Regions from separate parts of the Homo sapiens genome. Here all the other regions are linked to region 3. The links are contacts of gene promoters, found by promoter capture Hi-C in blood cells and fetal thymus (Javierre and others, 2016). All regions are on one chromosome and are shown on one strand. Each heading gives the region's core, a stretch centred on a gene start or on the middle of the fragment in contact. The rest is flanking DNA. Distances are from core to core; before and after follow the strand shown. Region 1 has its middle 8.0 kb from the start of ZNF14. Region 2 overlaps GATAD2A (GATA zinc finger domain containing 2A). Region 3 holds the start of LPAR2 (lysophosphatidic acid receptor 2).

What was found. The method cuts DNA at HindIII sites, captures the fragments that hold promoters and counts their contacts. A CHiCAGO score of 5 or more calls a contact.
Region 1: a contact is called between a fragment that was not itself captured here and the fragment with the promoter of LPAR2 in region 3, in 1 of 17 cell types (non-activated CD4 T cells). The highest score is 5.1, in non-activated CD4 T cells.
Region 2: a fragment that was not itself captured here is called in contact with the fragment with the promoter of LPAR2 in region 3 in 6 of 17 cell types (non-activated CD4 T cells, monocytes, activated CD4 T cells and 3 more); the score reaches 6.4 in non-activated CD4 T cells.

Annotation. Positions count from the first base shown.
Region 1 is chr19:19,739,807-19,742,506 of GRCh38, reverse strand. No RefSeq gene overlaps it. Among named protein-coding and RNA genes, the nearest start is that of ZNF14, 8.0 kb to the right of the region's middle. The HindIII fragment of the contact is 6,926 bases long and covers 1-2,700 here.
Region 2 is chr19:19,508,840-19,511,539 of GRCh38, reverse strand. GATAD2A (GATA zinc finger domain containing 2A) reads right to left here. Exons shown (of 12, transcript NM_001384528.1): 12 at 2,608-2,700. Among named protein-coding and RNA genes, the nearest start is that of TSSK6, 5.4 kb to the left of the region's middle. The HindIII fragment of the contact is 3,522 bases long and covers 1-2,700 here.
Region 3 is chr19:19,626,870-19,629,569 of GRCh38, reverse strand. LPAR2 (lysophosphatidic acid receptor 2) reads left to right here and starts at 1,350. Exons shown (of 3, transcript NM_001395660.1): 1 at 1,350-1,478; 2 at 2,286-2,700. The coding sequence starts at 2,295. It overlaps GMIP (GEM interacting protein), which reads left to right. Exons shown (of 21, transcript NM_016573.4): 21 at 1-94. RefSeq lists silencers at 600-729, 1,100-1,599 and an enhancer at 40-962. The HindIII fragment of the contact is 41,803 bases long and covers 1-2,700 here.

The DNA.
Region 1 (2,700 bases), core at 115-2,614, 110 kb before region 3:
GCCCTGTAGAGCATGGGCTTGGGCTACACAACAGGGCTGCCCCTCCTGGGCTAGAGGCAGTGCCCTCTGCAGGAGCTGAGAAAGTCCAGTCCTGAGAAAGGACGTGTATGGCCCAGGGTGGGTGACTGGGCCCCAAAAGCAGTCCTCGAGGGAGTGACCACATTACCAGGCCAGGATCCTGAGACCTGCCCAGTGCACTGAGGGTGCACCTGGGGCCTGTCCCACCTGATGTCCCCAAGTGCCCCGCAAGGTCTGATCTCTCAGCCTCCATCTACCTCCCCCGGGGGGTGGGGGCTTGCTTTGAGCTGTCCCCACCTTTCTGGATAGAACTAATGTACTTCTTACATATATTGATTGATGTCTCATGTCTCCTTAAAATGTATAAAAGCAAGCTGTGGGCCAGGCGCAGTGGCTCACGCCTGTAATCCCAGCACTGTGGGAGGCCGAGGCTGGTGGATCACGAGGTCAGGAGATCGAGACCATCCTGGCTAACACATAGAAACTCCATCTCTACTAAAAAGTACAAAAAATTAGCCAGGCGTGGTGGCGGGCGCCTGTAGTCCCAGCTACCTGGGAGGCTGAGGCAGGACAATGGTGTGAACCCGGGAGGTGGAGCTTGCAGTGAGCCGAGATCGCACCACTGCACTCCAGCCTGGGCGACAGAGCGAGATGCCGTCTCAAAAAAAAAAAAAAATTATCTGGGCATGGTGGTGGGTGCCTGTAATCCCAGCCTTTCAGGAGGCTGAGGCATGAGAATTGCTTGAGTCTGGGAGGCAGAGGTTGCAGTGAACTGAGATCGCGCCACTGCACTCCAGCCCGGGTGATAGTGTGAGACGCCGTCTCAAAAAAAAAAAAAAAAAAGCAAGCTGTGTCCCAACCACCTTGGGCACATGTCGTCAGGACTTCCTGAGACCATCACGGGTGCATCCTCAACCTTGGCAAAATAAACTTTCTAAATTAACTGAGACCTGTCACGGATTTTCTGGGTTCACCTCTCAAAGGGTAAAGAGTCATGCAAATTAAGACAAGTGGCACTGGTTCCCTGACCAGGAATCGAACCTGGGCTGAAGTGGTAAAGGCCCAGCATATTAGCCCCTGTACCACAGGGTGGAGTATAAGTTCAATAAGAATCCAAAGCAGGCAGTTTGAGCATTTAAAGGACTTTGACAGGGGAGGAGTTTCTACGCTAGAAAGGAGATTGGCACGAGCTGGGGAGATGTGTCCTGCCTCAGTGAGGCCTTTCTAAAAAAAAAAAAAACCCATCCCTGGGTGGTGAGGGTGGGAACAGAGGACTCACTGCCGAATCCCGAGGTGATCGGTGACTTTGTAGCTGTCAATATCCTCAGGCCCCACGTCTGCAGGTGCCTCTGCTCAGCATCCCTGTGACCCAGAGGGGATTCAGGGTGAGGGGGCCGAGGTGAGGGGTGTGGGGGCATGAAGTTCCCAGCAGCTGGTCCTGGCCCTGCATCCGGAGGGAGCCCAGGACACTCCGACCAGGATACAGCTGGAGATGGGTGGCCTCGCCTCCCTCGAGGGAACAGCCCGACCCGGACCTGCTCACACTTGTCAATGATGTCCCGCTCCTGCGCGGGCAGGGCAGCTGTAATCCTTTTCCATGTCCATCCTGCGAGACAACATTGTCCAAAGGCCACACTGCACCTGGGTGCTACAGAGAACACCCAAACCGCTTCCACCCAACTCTGAGACGCCGCCGGCCAGGTGAACCCCATGCCACCACCGCTCCGGGTGAAAAGGGGCCAGATCTAGGGTCCCCATGCCTGCTGGGGTCTCTGGAGTCCCTGCCCCAGCCAGAGGTGGGCTTCTTCCTGAGGATTTGAGAACAGGGGGACCTGGACACAGAGGCCCATTGTCCCCAAATGCCCTAAATCAGGCACATAAGGGAGGAACGGTGTCCATCTGCTGAGGGTGAGGGGCCTGTGGTGCGCTATTTCAGACACCTGCAGGTAGACTGGGGTCAGGGATCAGAGAGCTCCATATGCTCAGCCTCCTGGGATCACGCAGGGACCATGAAGATGCCCAGTTTCTTACAGGGAACAAGACACCTCGTGACTGCTCCGTTTCACCCCCATCTCCACTCCCTCTGGCCAGTGAAGCCGCTTCAAGAATAACATCAGCCAAACGGGAGGGTGCTTGGTTTGGGGTCAATGCAGCCTCTCTGCTCATGAAGATGTCTCAGGTGAAGGGACAGTGGATCCCAAGTTCTGAGCTGTCAATACAGGAAGGACCCTCGTGTTCCGGGGTCACTGAGAAAGAATGAGAACTCTGATGACTTGGTCCTGGAGAACTCCAGAGGGTCCCTTCCCATGAACATTCGGAACAAAGAAAGGGCGAGGCCCGTAAAGGAACAGAGAAAGGGCCTTGTGCGGAAGAGCCCCAGTTCCCGGTGAAGAGGAGGAACGATCATCACCCTCCAACCAACCCTCCGGGGCGCCATCATTTTCCACAACTGCCCAAGGACAGAGGGCTCCCCACCCCACTCCCAGACAAGAGATCCCATATGTCCAGTGGGTCCCACAGCGACCCCCACTGACTGCACCCAAAGTCTGGGTTGATGAGATCTTCTCTTGCAGGGACCCACCTTAGGACACAGACCTGGATGGAAGACCACCCTCCACCCCACCCACAGGGGCTCTTCCAAGGCCAGGCTCTGTCCTATTGCTGTCAAAAATTTTGGAAAGA
Region 2 (2,700 bases), core at 82-2,581, 120 kb after region 3:
ATCCCAGCACTTTGGGAGGCGGATCACTTGAGGTCAGGCGTTTGAGACCAGCCTGGCTAACATGGTAAAACCCCATCTCTACTAAAAATACAAAATTTAGTCGGGCATGGGTGGCTTGCACCTGTAGTCCTAGCTACTGGGGAGCCTGAGTCAGGAGAATCACTTGAACCCGGAAAATGGAGGATGCAGTGAGCCAAGATCCCACCAATGCACTCCAGCCTGGGCAGCAGAGCAAGACTCTGCCTCAAAAGAAAAAATAAATAAATAAAATAAAACCTAGCCCCTAGCCCCTCTGGTTTATTCGAAGGGTGCTGCTCCTGACTGGGGCCATGCCTCAGACTCCCCACTTGGAAAATGGGCAAAACCCCATCCTTGGGGTAGTGGGCATGGCTTCAGAGTGGGCGTAGCTTGAGTACTGGGCCCAGGACCTTCCCTAGACTCCCACTGCACTTAGCTAAAACCCACGCCCTTGCCCCGTCTTCCCACCCAGTCCCACCACATTGCCCTTTTTGTTCTTGACCTGCCATGCTGGCTCCTATCTCCAAGCCTTTGCACACTCCTGGCACTTTTCCCCTCTTCAAGCCTTGCCTAAAATGTCACCCCATGCCCTCCTCTCAAGGTGCTATATGTTTCTGTCTGGATAGCTCCTGCCACATCTCCGGGGCCCAGGGCATAGTGCATGCCATCTGTCCACCGACGAATCTGTGGGAGCAGATGGGGTCAGGGTCTCTGCCTGCCATGTGGCCACAGACCCAAGGCTCAATTCAGAGAGGATGAGATGTCGGGGACAAGATGTCAGGGACGAGGGGAGTGTCCCATTTTCTCAGCTGGAGAGGCTATTTGAGACCATGACCCAGGACCCGCCCCTTGAATCTGCCCCAACTGCACTGACAAGCCTGTGCCCAATCCAGGGAAGCAGAGCCTCACGAGGAACCAAGAGCCAAGCCCAGGAGACAGCACCCCATAGGAATGTTTCTCAGGCCAAGCAAGAAATGCCTGTAGCAAGCCTCTGGCCCCAGCTACACGGTAGGCTGAGGTGGGAGGATCGCCTGAGCCTGGGCAACAGAGAGCCTCTAGGCACTCTAGCTTGGGCAACAGAGAGCCTATCTCAAAAAAAAAAAAAAAAAAAAGTGGCTGGGTGCAGTGGCTCACGCCTGTCATCCCAGTACTTTGGGAGGCTGAGACCGGTGGATCACATCAGGAGTTTGAGACCAGCCTGGCCAACACGTGAAACCCCATCTCTACTGAAAATTAACTGGGCGTGCTGGTGGCGGCACCTGTAATCCCAGCTACTCGGGAGGCTGAGGCAGAAGAATCGCTAGAACCTGGGAGGCGGAGGTTGCAATGAGCCAAGATCGCGCTACTGGACAGGCTGAGGTTCAGTTTCTACCATGTTCTCTACCAGCTCTGTGCCCATAAGACCAGGCACTTGGGAGTTGTGGGGAAGGTATGAGCTCCCAGGCCGGAGGCAAGGATGCTTCAAAGACAAGAAACGGCCAAGCGTGGTGACTCACACCTGTAATCCCAGCACTTTGGGAGGCCAAGGTGAGAGGACTGCTTGAGTCCAGGAGTTCAAGACCAGCCATGGGCAACATGGCAAAAATGTGTCTTTGCAAAAAATACGAAAATTAGCTGGGCATGGTGGTGCATGCCCATAGTCCCAGCTACTGAGGAGTCTGAGATGTGAGGATCACCTGAGCCTAGGGAGGTTGAGGCTGCAGTGAGCTGAGATCAAGCCACTGCATTCCAGCCTGGGCAACAGAGTGAGACCCTGCCTCAAATAAATAGCACCTAGGAAAACAGGGTCATGTTTTATGCACATTAAAATTCAGCAAAATGATCCCAGGTCTCACCTTAAGAATAAAACTTGAAACTATCAACACTTGAAAACATTTTTGCCAGGACGTCGTTCATTTTGGATCCAGGTTGGTGACTCTGTGCTTAGATTGCACATCTGTAATATCACATCCTGCAGCAAAGACACCATCGAGGCCCCCAGCCTGAAAATTGCTCCAGGAAAACCCACCACTCTAGCGTGAAGGCTGATGCAGCAAACACAAGCAAATTCCACTGAGAATTTTTTTTTTTTTTTGAGAAAGTCACGGTCTCTTACCCAGGCTATAGTGCAGTGGCGCAATCTTGGCTCACTGCAACCTCTGCCTCCCGGGTTCATGCGATTCTCCTGCCTCAGCCTCCCAAGTAGCTGGGGTACAGGCACCCACCACCACATCCGGCCAATTTTTGTATTTTTAGTAGAGATGGGGTTTCACCATGTTGGCCAGGCTGGTATCGAACTCCTGACCTCAGGTGATCCACCCACCTCAGCCTCTCAAAGTGCTGGGATTACAAATGTGAGCCACCAAACCCAGCCCCCACTGAGATTCTCATTCCTCTCTCCCAGCCCATGGGGTAAGTTTGCCACAAAGCTCCAGAGGAGAGGGGCCGTGGGGACTCCATCCCCACAGTAAGTGAGGCCCCAGCAGCAGATGCACCCCGCCCTTTGCTTCTCTCATTAACTAAGGGTCATCCTCCATCTCCCTCCAACCTGCCTGGGAAGCTAGGACGAAACAATACAGAGAAGCCAGGGCAGAAGGGACAAAAGAAAAGTCCAGTTGACACATCATCCATTTATTATCCTTCAGAGTCTAAAACTTCCTCGTGATACAACGTATAGCCACCCATTCCAGCCTGCTTATTGGA
Region 3 (2,700 bases), core at 101-2,600:
CTCGAAGTGACCTTCCTGGAGGAGGTGGGCAGCTCAGACTCCACATGCTGGTGGTGCCTGAGGTCTGATGGCCTCTAATAAACTGTGTCCTATATGCCCTTGGGTGCATCTCTGCTAGGGGAGAGGCCAGCATGGGTAGCACTCCTTGCCCCCATTTTACAGATTAGGGGAATCAAGGCCTCTTTTTTTTTTTTTTTTTTTTTTTTTTTTGAGACGGAGTTTTGCTCTGTCTCCAGGTTGGAGTGCAGTGGCACGATCTCCGCTCACTGCAACCTCCACCTCCCGGGTTCAAGCGATTCTCCTGCCTCAGCCTCCCGAGTAGCTGGGACTACAGGCGCCTGCCACCATGCCCGGCTAATTTTTTTGTATTTTTAGTAGAGACGGGGTTTCAGCATGTTGGCCAGGATGGTCTCGATCTCCTGATCTCGTGATCGTCCCGCATCGGCCTCCCAAAATGCAGGGATTACAGGCGTGAGCCACTGCGCCCGGCCTCAAGGCCTCCTTCTTGCATCATCAAACACCCTGCAGCACCTACGTAAAGGCAGTTGGAGCTGGGTCGCAGCACCCGGCTGAGTCACGCCAGCCCGGCCCTCCCGGAGCTCTGCGTCCCCGATCCGGTCCTGCATAATCAAATACAGTATAACAAAGTACCGATAACCGGGACAATGGGGCTGTGTGCTCCGGACCGTGGGAGCCCGGGGCCGCCGCAGGGAGGCCGAGGGAGGAAGCCACAGGGCAGGGCAGGGCAGGGCCGGGCTTTGCAGGGGGCAGCGCTGTCCCAGGGTGAGGGGTACGGGGGCGGGATTGCAAAACCCTAGCGTGCGCCCGATGATCAGCTGGGGCCGCAGAGGTGGGCCTCGCACAGGAGGCCGCGGCTCGCTGATACTGCGAGCTGGCAAAGCCGAAGCTGGGCGGGGGTCCGGGCGGTGGGAGCCAAGTCGGATCAGGGAGTGGCTTGTAACTCGGCGGCCGATTGGACACGAAGAAGAGAGCGGGGTGGGGCTGGGAGGGTTGGGGGTCCGGAGCGGGGGCGCGGACCCAAGACCACCTGGAGCTCCGCCCGGGCAGCGCGGGGTCACGGCGGGAATTTTCGGGTCGCCGAGTGACTCAGCCCCGCAGGCTCGAAACTGCGGGCGCATGAGGTGTGCAGGTACCGGGGTGGGGGTCCCGCGCCGGAAATAGGGGCGACTGAGGGGCCGCGAGGCGGGGAGGAAACAGGGGGGCTGCGGTTCCGGGCGACACCGCCCCCGACGCGGCCGTGGAGGCGGGGCTCCCCCAGGTGGCGGGGCGGGGCAGGGCTCCCCCAGGTGGTGGGGGCGGGGCGCCGGGGAGACCCCGCCTCCCGCGCCCTCTCAGCAACCCGCACAGGGCGCACCCGGACGCTCTACCGCTCCCGCCGCAGTCGCCGGGCCATGGGCCTCGAGCCCGCCCCGAACCCCCGCGAGCCCGCCTTGTCTGCGGCGTGACTGGAGGCCCAGGTGAGGCCTGCACGGACGGGAGGCGGGCGGGTGCGGGCCTGGGCCCGGGGGAAGGGCGCGGCACGTGCCTGCGGGGCCAGGACGCCGCCCTCTGATCCCTTAACCCCCTACCCCTTCCCCAGTCTGGAGACGCCTGGAGGCCCGGCCATCCATCCCTTCCCCAACCGCTGTCTTTGTCCCGGAGACCGCCAGTGTCCTCCGTCCCACCCGGAACAGCCTATTGCCCCGCCCGCTTGGGAAGCACTCGCGCCCAAATCCCGCCGACTAACTTCTGGGGCCGCCTCTCTGTCCACTCCGATCACCTCCACGCCTCGGCACCGCCCCCTCGCAGGGTTCTAGCAAGTGACCTCACCCTTGTGTGCACACGCTCCCGGGTCTCTGCTCCCTACACTGACTCCGGCACCAAAGTGATCCTCCCTCATCTCTTCCCGCAGCTCACACCCCTTTGTCTTTCCCTAACCCTCCTCTCCCCACAACCCAAACCGGGTCACACATTGGCGGCAGGTGGGCTGGGATTCGACCATAGATGGGTTTTGTTTCACTTCTGGTTCAAAAACCTATTGACTTGGGTGATGTCTTGCACACAGGTCTTATTAGTAGGTAAGAAACAGCTGCTCCTCCACCTCCACCCCAGCCCCATGGAGCTTGCTTTTTCCAGGCCACCGTAGTCCTCACCACTGCCACTTTGCTTCGAGGTATCTGAATTTGAGACCCTTGTCCTTCCTGCGCTGACCCTCCTCTGCAGCTGCCGCCCCTCCCTGTGTCCTTCCAAGAAGTGCCACATGCACTGATCTCTTGTGTCCCCAGATGGTCATCATGGGCCAGTGCTACTACAACGAGACCATCGGCTTCTTCTATAACAACAGTGGCAAAGAGCTCAGCTCCCACTGGCGGCCCAAGGATGTGGTCGTGGTGGCACTGGGGCTGACCGTCAGCGTGCTGGTGCTGCTGACCAATCTGCTGGTCATAGCAGCCATCGCCTCCAACCGCCGCTTCCACCAGCCCATCTACTACCTGCTCGGCAATCTGGCCGCGGCTGACCTCTTCGCGGGCGTGGCCTACCTCTTCCTCATGTTCCACACTGGTCCCCGCACAGCCCGACTTTCACTTGAGGGCTGGTTCCTGCGGCAGGGCTTGCTGGACACAAGCCTCACTGCGTCGGTGGCCACACTGCTGGCCATCGCCGTGGAGCGGCACCGCAGTGTGATGGCCGTGCAGCTGC